3 separate regions of the Homo sapiens genome follow, and all the other regions are linked to region 3. Evidence: promoter capture Hi-C in 16 types of primary human blood cells and fetal thymus (Javierre and others, 2016). All regions are on one chromosome and are shown on one strand. Each heading gives the region's core, a stretch centred on a gene start or on the middle of the fragment in contact. The rest is flanking DNA. Distances are from core to core; before and after follow the strand shown.

The links. Contacts are between HindIII fragments. The CHiCAGO score rates a contact against its expected background, and 5 or more counts as called.
Region 1: a contact is called between a fragment that was not itself captured here and the fragment with the promoter of ADCY10 in region 3, in 1 of 17 cell types (erythroblasts). The highest score is 5.8, in erythroblasts.
Region 2: a fragment that was not itself captured here is called in contact with the fragment with the promoter of ADCY10 in region 3 in 1 of 17 cell types (erythroblasts); the score reaches 5.3 in erythroblasts.

What each region holds. Positions count from the first base shown.
Region 1 is chr1:167,842,502-167,845,515 of GRCh38, forward strand. All of the region lies in intron 21 of ADCY10 (adenylate cyclase 10), which reads right to left. Among named protein-coding and RNA genes, the nearest start is that of ADCY10, 70 kb to the right of the region's middle. The HindIII fragment of the contact is 1,093 bases long and covers 1,004-2,096 here.
Region 2 is chr1:167,994,756-167,997,851 of GRCh38, forward strand. All of the region lies in intron 7 of DCAF6 (DDB1 and CUL4 associated factor 6), which reads left to right. Among named protein-coding and RNA genes, the nearest start is that of MIR1255B2, 2.4 kb to the right of the region's middle. RefSeq lists an enhancer at 1,645-1,704. The HindIII fragment of the contact is 1,704 bases long and covers 941-2,644 here.
Region 3 is chr1:167,912,821-167,915,928 of GRCh38, forward strand. It overlaps ADCY10 (adenylate cyclase 10), which reads right to left and starts at 1,314. Exons shown (of 33, transcript NM_018417.6): 1 at 1,156-1,314. It also overlaps a transcript of DCAF6 not described here. RefSeq lists enhancers at 342-1,018, 1,019-1,695. The HindIII fragment of the contact is 13,833 bases long and covers 986-3,108 here.

The sequences.
Region 1 (3,014 bases), core at 300-2,799, 70 kb before region 3:
CACACTTTGGGAGGTTCAGGGATAAAGGATAGACAGAGTATCTATCTGTCTAGGATAGATTAAAGCAGGATATTTTAAGGAAGACACTGCAAAAAAAAAAACGTTTCCTAGTAACCCTAGGGAAAATAAACATTTGTTAAGAAATCTATTCACAGTATATTACTTGGTTTGTAATGGACAACATTTACATAGTCTTAATAATGTAAACACTTCATTGGCTTATCTAATGCCAGTTATATGACAATATAGGGGAGAGGGGCCGAGGAGTGGTGTAACAGAGTTAAATCCTCATCTGCCATAGCCAGAAAACAGATGTCAGAATTTGATTTTCTTAAAAATCAGTAAAAGCAATGTTAATATACCATTTAGTATATGGAGGTAATGACTAGAAAGAACAGCTAAATTAAAAATGTTTGCCCCTGACTGGAATTACTGAAGGTGTGTGGGACGGTCGGCCATGGGATTACTGTTTTGTGATACGACATTTAGGGAATTTACAAAGTCTCTAAAGTTTGTCGAGTCGATAGCCTTCTGAACAGGTGAAAAATTCTGATAAGAGAAATAGTAGAGCTGTGGCCTCACTCAGGTGGAGGTGCTGATGGAAGGGATACCAGCAGACATTATTCAGAGACATTTGGTCATATATGTTCCAGAGCTGAACTGCCAGTTGATTGGAAAATCTGCAAATAACTGAAATTGTTTGCTTTGATGACACTAGTCAACCTGCTCAAGGCCAGCTGCTCAAACTGACCTATATTCTAGCTGTCAGTGTATTTTAGCTTATTTTATCCCCCAAAATAAAACATCAATCTACCAAAAAATGCATCTATGTATATGTATGTGTGTGTACATGTGTATGTGTGTGTGTATATGTATGACTCACTGACCCCGCACAGTCAAATATTCTTCTTTCCCCTTTCCCTCATCTCTTTCCATCATTTCATCTCCTACTGATACTTTCATTGGTTCTTTGAATAGGGCCCTGTGTGGGATCCTTCACTAAAGCTTCCTTAATTCAGGCAGCGCATCTTCTCGGTGCTCCAGTCTGTCCCCCTTATCCCTGTCTCATTCTAGCAGTCCACACCCAAGGGTCTTGTTACCCTCCCAAGGGCACCCTGGGAAGAACTTAAAATGGTTCCAGACTGGCTGTTTCTCCCAGGTGGGTTTTATCTGATCCATGAGAAACCCTCACACATCCTTTCCCACAGTCTGGGATGGCAGCTTGATCCCAATGCAGCCACAGGCCACTTCAGCCTTCTTAGGCATGAGGCAGGCCCCAGTGTTCTATGTCCTCTGATTCTAAGGAAGACACCTCACCAGGCTTGAGGTGATGAAGTAAACAACCCACTTGAGGAGGGCACACAGCACCTCATCAGTTCTCACCAAAGAGATCTCTTCACAAATCCTGACCCTCTACATCCTCTTCCTCATTTCTATGTCTTAGGTCTGGGCGAAGGATCCAAGATTATAATTGATTCTCAGCTATTTCTTTTGTAATTCTGTATATCCACTGCCTCAGTTTGAATTGCAGCATTAGTTGTATCTTGGTGCTCTGGCACAAATTTCAATTTCAACATAATATTACACACATACCACTTTTGTGATAATAATATTACCAATTTTGTAAAAATATAACAAACAAGAGAGAATTTAATAAATGCTAGTAATAGAACTAGACTCAGGTAGGTGTACATTCCCCTGACATCTTCCCTGCCCAGTGCAGATGAGACTATTGCTGAAGTCTTATCCTCTTTGTACTCAAGCTCTCAGAGGACTAAAAATCTTCATGGTCCAGATCCTAAGGCTCTGAACCTACAGCCTGATTCCTGTTTTCCAAAAAGGGAGATGGACTAGTGTTAGTGCAGTTTCAACAACATGCTCGTCCCACTGTGCAAAGCTGCAACTTTCTCATTCTCTTGATTTCTACTTCATGCTGTGTCTACGAACTTCCTATCTTCTGGCAAGTATTACCTAAAATCCAACCCCACATTTGGGGGAGCTCAGGTATAATGAGCAGAGGATGAACTTAGGAATTAGACTGATGGCAGATTGAATAAAGCCTGTCACTCATTCTGTGGTATTGGGTAAGTTACTTAAGCTTCCAGAACCACAATTTAAAAAATCTATACAATGAAAACAACCCTCATCAACCTTAAAGGGTTAATATGAGGATCCACTGAGAAGGCACATGAAATGGAGAACGAATGAGAAAAAAAAGTTTATTTTGCACCTGCTATGTACTAGGCAGTTTAGATACATTTCTTCCTGATTTTTAATATCCTTATAATATAGGAGTCCTCTACTTGTAGCCTCTGATTTCCCAACCAGATTTAGCCATAATCACCAAGGTCCTCTGACTAGAGTAGGCAGCCCATTAGGAGCTCCCTGGCCACCATGAATGGGGGCTAGAATTGGTGGTGTTGCTCTGTGTCTGACACCCATCATGCCCATAGTGACTGAGTCTTTGGGTCCTTACACCCCCTGAATCCTCTGCTATGTTTTCTCAGATCACATGGCTGGTTGGTATTATTGGCTTGTAACTTTTTAACTTTTGCTTCTCCGATGGTCTTGAATTCTTGCCCTGAAACCAAGCCCTGTTTTCTGGAGCCCTGACCTGCTTAGCCCTGGCTAATTCTCTCTCAGTCATGTTCTTTACCCACTGGAACCTGTTTCAAACTAGACCAACAAAGCAATAATATTCTTATCTGCCAAGAAACACCATGTCATCATGTCAGATTGTACCCCCCTTTGGATTCCATCCTTTGGTGTGAATTAAGTGGGATATTTTAGTTTGAGTTCTGGTCACATCCCATTTTGCCAGAGCCCCTATCCCCAAACCCTCCCTGACAGTTATAGTGAGATTGGTTCGCTAGACTCAATACAGGTACATTCCCTTACTTTTCTCTTCCCCATTGGCCTAGGCTGCTGAAGTCTCATCATTCTTTGTGCCCAAGCCGCTTATGAGACTTGAAGCCCTCAAGATCCACACCCACTCCTTCTAGATCTTAGTCTCT
Region 2 (3,096 bases), core at 543-3,042, 82 kb after region 3:
TGTCCTGTGTTATTCACTTTGAACTTTGGCTTGTAAAAGTCTTTTGAAATTAACCATTGATTTTTATTTTCAGTGACCTTTTGGTATTGGCTCAATGCCTATTAATACGTTTTAAAGGTTACTAATAACAGTGATTTTGGAATTCCTACGAGATACAAAACTATATTCATTCCTCATAATTTCAGGTGTAGAGGGCTGTAAAATTAGAAATCAGGATTACTTTATAAATATACTTTGAGATTTTTATCCTTGCAGTGTATTTATTTGAATTAGGAAATTGATGAAGAAGGGTATGATGGCTAATAAAATGATTTTTGAGTTTATTCTGGTTAAAAACATGAAATCTGCTCTGTCATTTTGTTACTGCTATGCAAATTTCCCCTTGAAATACATGGGTAAGTAAAGTTATAGTCAAACTGTGATTGTTACATAATGAAAGAGTTGGAAGTCCATAGACATTTTAAGTGGGCCAACTAGTTTTGATACCATGGAATACTTAGCCAAAAGATATTTATATAATCAGAGTGAATGAGGCTGAGTCATGAACATTTTTTTTTCTGGGAGACTTTTCCTTGGTCTTGTTTGTTGCATTAACTAAATTAAGAAAAACAATGCTGAAAGTGGATTTAAATTATGCTTGTTGGCCGGGCGTAGTGGCTTACGCCTGTAATCCTAGCACTTTGGGAGGTCGAGGCGAGTGGATCACCTGAGGTCAGGAGTTCAAGACCAACCTGGCCAACATGGTGAAACCCTTTCTCTACTGAAAATACAAAAATTAGCTGGGCTTGGTGGCAGGCGCCTGTAATCCCAGCTACTTGGGAGGTTGAGGCAGGAGAATTGCTTGAACCCAAGAGAAGGAGGTTGCATGAGCCGAGATCACGCCATTGCACTCCAGCCTGGGTGACAAGAGCAAAACTCAGTCTCAGAAAAAAAAAAAAAAAGCTTATTATAACAAACCAAACAATTCAGAGGTATACATAGAATAAATTAATAATCTGTCTTATTTGTAATTCTGACACATTTTGGTGTTTTATACTGAAACTTTGATGATAGTATTCAGACAAACTTAACTCACCAAATATTTATTGGGTGCCTACTATACACCAAGTCCTCTACTTAACTTTGGAAAATGAAGGATGACCAGACAAAGACATGATCTCTTACTTAAGGAATTCACAGCTTAGTGGAAGTAGAGGTACAAGTAAATAAATATGTAAAACTTAATATAGAATTATGTATAAGGACTATGTTCTGTATAAGTAGAACAAAGTAGGGAATAATTAATCTTGAGTAAAGCCTGAGGAAGGTTTTAAAGCATGAGTAAAAGTTTGTTGTATGATTTTGTCTTATGTTTCCATAATATTTTTGTATTTTCTCAATTTGTGGAGGCCTTTCTATTTCCTTACCGCCTCTAATAATTTCTTTCATTTTTTTCCCCCTTCTTTCTTTGGTTCATTCTTTTGTCTTAATTTTTTTTGTACTTTCTGTTTTCCCTTATTTTTCTATCCTTTTTTCTTTTTATCATCTCTCTTTTCTTCTTTTTGACAGTTTACCACCTGCCCTACCCCATTATTGGGCTTCTTTGTTGAATTCATTCTTTCATTTTCTTCTGGTCCCCATAGCTTGTGCCTAAAAATATACTCCAGATCTGACTACTGCTTACCACCACCCTTGCTGCATTACCACCCTGATCCGAGCTATCAGCATCTCTGGCATGACCTATCCCCCTTTGTAGTTGATTTTGCTAGCTTTCTAACCAGTCTTCCTGCTTTCACTTCCTACAGCCCTATAGCTATACAGCATTCAAAGTGATCCTTAGAAACATAAGTTAAATCATGCCGCTCTTCTCATCAACATTCTAAGTGGCTCCCTGTCGGACCTAAAGCAAAACTGAAGTCCTTATGGTGGCTTCAAGATCTTATATTATCTGGTCCTAATTATTACTTCTACTGTTTTCTTCTTTACTGTGCTCTAACCACATCTACTTGCTTAGTAACTCAGGCCAAGCATGACTCTATTTTAGGATTTTGCATTTACTCTGCCTGAAATGCTCTTCCCTGGATACCTGGATTTTTTCTTCCCTGTGTATTTCAGGTCTTTGCTTATGTAACCTTCTTGGTGAAGCCCTACTTCACCATCCTATTTAAAATCACGGCCTTTAACTGATACTACCTATCCCCTTTTCTACTTTATTTCTCTCCATAACAGTAACTTTCTATGTATATTTTGCTTTTTCATTTCATGTGTTGTTTGCTCCATCGGGCTGTAAATTCTGTGACATTGGGGATTTTTTGTGTGTTTTGTCCATTGTTGTTTTCCAATACCTGTAATAGTACCTGACATATAAAAGGTGCTCAAAAAATATTTGGTGAATGAAACGCCATTTTCAGTATTCTTGCCTAGGTTATTTCACATACTCAGAAAGTCAAATTTGAGATTGTTTTTAATTTGAAGATTTTATTCTATAAATAATTGCTGAGGTTGTAAAACCAGTTCTTTGGCTATGTAATATAAAAATTCCTCTCTGTTGAAACCATGAAGCAAGATTCTATTATATTGTTTTAAGAATAGTTCGTATGAAGGATGAAGCCCTCTCCTTTTGGGAGTGATTAGTTGTTTGAGAATTTGCACAGCTGCCACATTAAGCTTTGTTCTGGTTATTCCCTGTCACACACTTACGTCTTCCTGTGTAGATTTTACTATTCTCAGTTGCCTTTAGCCATACTTACACATAATATGGAATTTATGGGGATTTTTTTTTCTGTCTCCTTTGCTCAGGATGCAAAGATTTTTTTCTATTCATGTTACTAGGTATGGTTTCCAGAAGAAATCAGAAAATTCACTGTTAAGTGTCACCAAGTTTTTATCAAAACCTGTTTAATTTTCAGGAAAAAAAAATCAATGAATGCTGTTTTTAAAAAATAAATAAAAATAAAAAGAGTGACCCACAGGATGGGAGAAAATGTTTTGCAGATCATGTGTCTGGTTACAGTTTAGTATCCAGAATGTATAAGGAACACTTACAGTGCAACAATAAAAAGACAAATATCCAAACTTAAAAATAGGTAAAGGATTTGAATATATAATACTTTTTTT
Region 3 (3,108 bases), core at 64-2,563:
TCATTTAATCATCCAAACAGCGCTATGAAGTAGACCTGATTTCTATAGATATGAAAACTGAAGCACAGAGGTATTAACTTGCTCTGGGTTATAAAGCTGGAATATCCAGGTCTGTGGGACTTGAAAGTCCCTGTTGTTTCTACTATATCATGCTATATCCCATTTGTATACGCTTTATAGCACTTTGGGGATGTATATGACCTAGACAAAAGATGTAGGTTTAATTTAAGAGCACTTTCAATGCATGTTGATGGTACCCTTATCAACTGTTCAGCCAATTCTATCACATCAAGAATACAGCATGAACAGCATGGGTACTGACAAAGCGCGGAAGCACCTTGGAATGAGAAATGAGGATACCTGAGTCAAAAGGCAAGCAGGCGAATGAGGCCCGAAAGATAAACCAAGAAGGATTCCTGAATGCGGAGTGTGAGTAAAGAAAACTCAGTAGTACCCAAAAATGAAAAGAGAAATTAGGGTTCGATTATATTCATCAGTTTCTCTAAATCTCTCCTCTAGAATTTCCTAATAGATTTTATATTCAACTTTTCACCTACATGTAAAGTCAGGTTTCACGAGTCCAAAGAGGGAGATACTCTGAACTTAAAGGCACAGTGTTACCTGTCATGAAAGCTTGCTTGCCTACTCTAGCCATGGTAATTTTTCTTCTGAGCTATTGTGGCTCTTAATGTCTACACTTAAGTGGCTTATTTCCCATACAAATATCCTTGATTATCTTTTGAATTGCTTCTATTTTGTCTTCATCTGAATTGTAAGCTCCCCGTTTGGAACCATCTTCTACATATCTTTGTTTACTCCACAGCACCTTGCCAGAGCCCCCTTCAAGAGGTAGGCACTTGGTAGTTGTTGACTGATAAAAAGGAGGATATCACGTGAGAAACTGCAGAAAAGAGGCAAATAAAGAAAGTAAGCTAGAAAGACAGAGCATCCAGGTTGAGAAGGTGAGGCAATATTTAAGCCTTCAAGCTTCTAAGCTCATGTAAGGGACTGACACAGAGGTATACACAAACTTGAACCCTGACTTCTAGCCCCAGGCTTCCCACTCCTCTGCAATAGCTGTCTTCTTTCCTGACGGTCGCCCTCATCTTCAGCTCTGCAATCAATCTTTCTGCTGAGACTCTTACTTCCACATACCTCCACTTCATCCAGGGCTGAGGAAAAGCCAGACCTCAGTTAGGGACTAGGTCTTTTAAGACTGCAGAAGACAGGAGAGGAGGCCGGGTGACATTATTCTGAAGACAGCTGAAGCGCCATGTCTGTCTATAGCTGACCCATAAAATGACAGTTTTGTCTAAAAGCCGTTTTCCAGGCCACACCCTCATCAGTAGCTCATTGTTCCACGGGCACCGACCATGTTTCTGATTGGGTGGCACTGCCGTCCCCTCCCCCACCAACCTGAGTGGCCTACTACTGTACAAGGAAGGACTGGCTGTTTCAGGTTCTCTTATCCGCACATTTGAGGCAAGGGTCAGGGGAGACTGACATGACCCCAGAGTAGTTTACACAATTCTTCCCTTGGCCATGTGGAGGATGGTTGAAATTAGGCAATAGTTGGTAGGTGATCATCAGAAGTATCTCCAGAGCAAGCAAACACCTAATTTTAGTCAATAGTGGTTACAGCTTGTACCAGGACTATGAAATTTACCAGTTATAATAAATTCAATACTTACCTTCAGATATATTTGTGAGGTAAATTTTTGTTTGAAGAATTATATACCTGCCCTTTCTGACTGGTCAAGTGCACGCTTTTAATCAAATTTATCCCAAAGATAACTTGAAATCCAATGGGCACTGGATTTGAGTTTTCTTTATCTGATGTGACACTGGAAAAATGTATTTTAAGAGGCTGGTGTGTTTTCTAACAGCTTAAATCATGTGTTGATTTTCTAAATGTTCTTATGTATATCATCACAACCACAATTATCATTTAGGGGCACAGCTTTTAAAATTGGAATTTAAAAAGTCTTATTTAAAAAGCTGTACATGTTCTCCTATAAAGCCCCGCTCTGTAATTGTTTACTGTGTACTTCCAAATGTTGTAAAACACAGTTGTCTTAGGGAGGAAAACAAGAGGGTCATTTAATTATGTTCATTGAGTGAATTTTCTGGTGTGAGTTGTGGAAACCAGTCTTATAATTAGAATCATACCTCATTTAATTAAACAATCCCCTTAGGGAGAGCTATTCTTAATAAATGCCAGTGTTTTCTATTTCTGCTTCATTATATAAACAGGCTCCAGTAGAGACCTTTGTTTTACAGAAAGGAACCTTAGCTTTGAGGTCCATCCTCATTAACATTCAACCTTTCGCTATGATTTTATAAGTTAAAAAAGAAAATATTTACTATGAGGAAACAGCAGCACTGACATACCTTGGATCAAAGTTTCCTTAAAAGAGATGCCATACCACAAAAAAAGACTAAAGAATTTATCTCTTATTGAGCATTCTCCACCCCACCTACTACTCCTCTACCCCAAGCAGCTTCTTTTCTGCTATAAAGTTATTAGTTCAGAAACCGTGCAAATAGGTTAACACAGTATATCCTTTTTGTAGTAAAATTAAAACTTCCTTTAAAGTACTTAAAGAAAAGTACTTTCTGGGTCTACCTTCAATTAATAAGATTACCATTTTCTGAACTTTCTTCTTGTTGCCCAGGCTGGAGTGCAATGGCGTGATCTCAGCTCACTGCAACCTCCACCTCCCTGGTTCAAGTGATTCTCCTGTCTCAGCCTCCCAAGTAGCTCGGATTACAGGCATGTGCCACCATACCCAGCTAATTTTTTTGTATTTAGTAGAGATGCGGTTTCACCATGTTAGTCAGTCTTGTCGCGAACTCCTGACCTCAGGTGATCCACCTGCCTCGGCCTCTCAAAGTGCTGGGATTTCAGGCATGCACCACCGCGCCTGGCCCGTTTCCTGAACTTTCCATATCTTCAATATTTACTGTGGACCAGGCACTGTGTTAAAACCTTATCTCAATCTTTAGAACAATCCTATGAAGTCAGTACTATGATTATCCTCATTTTGCTCTTGAAAATATTAAAGGTCAGAGACAGAGGTTAACAAAGTCTCACAGTTAATGTGTGGC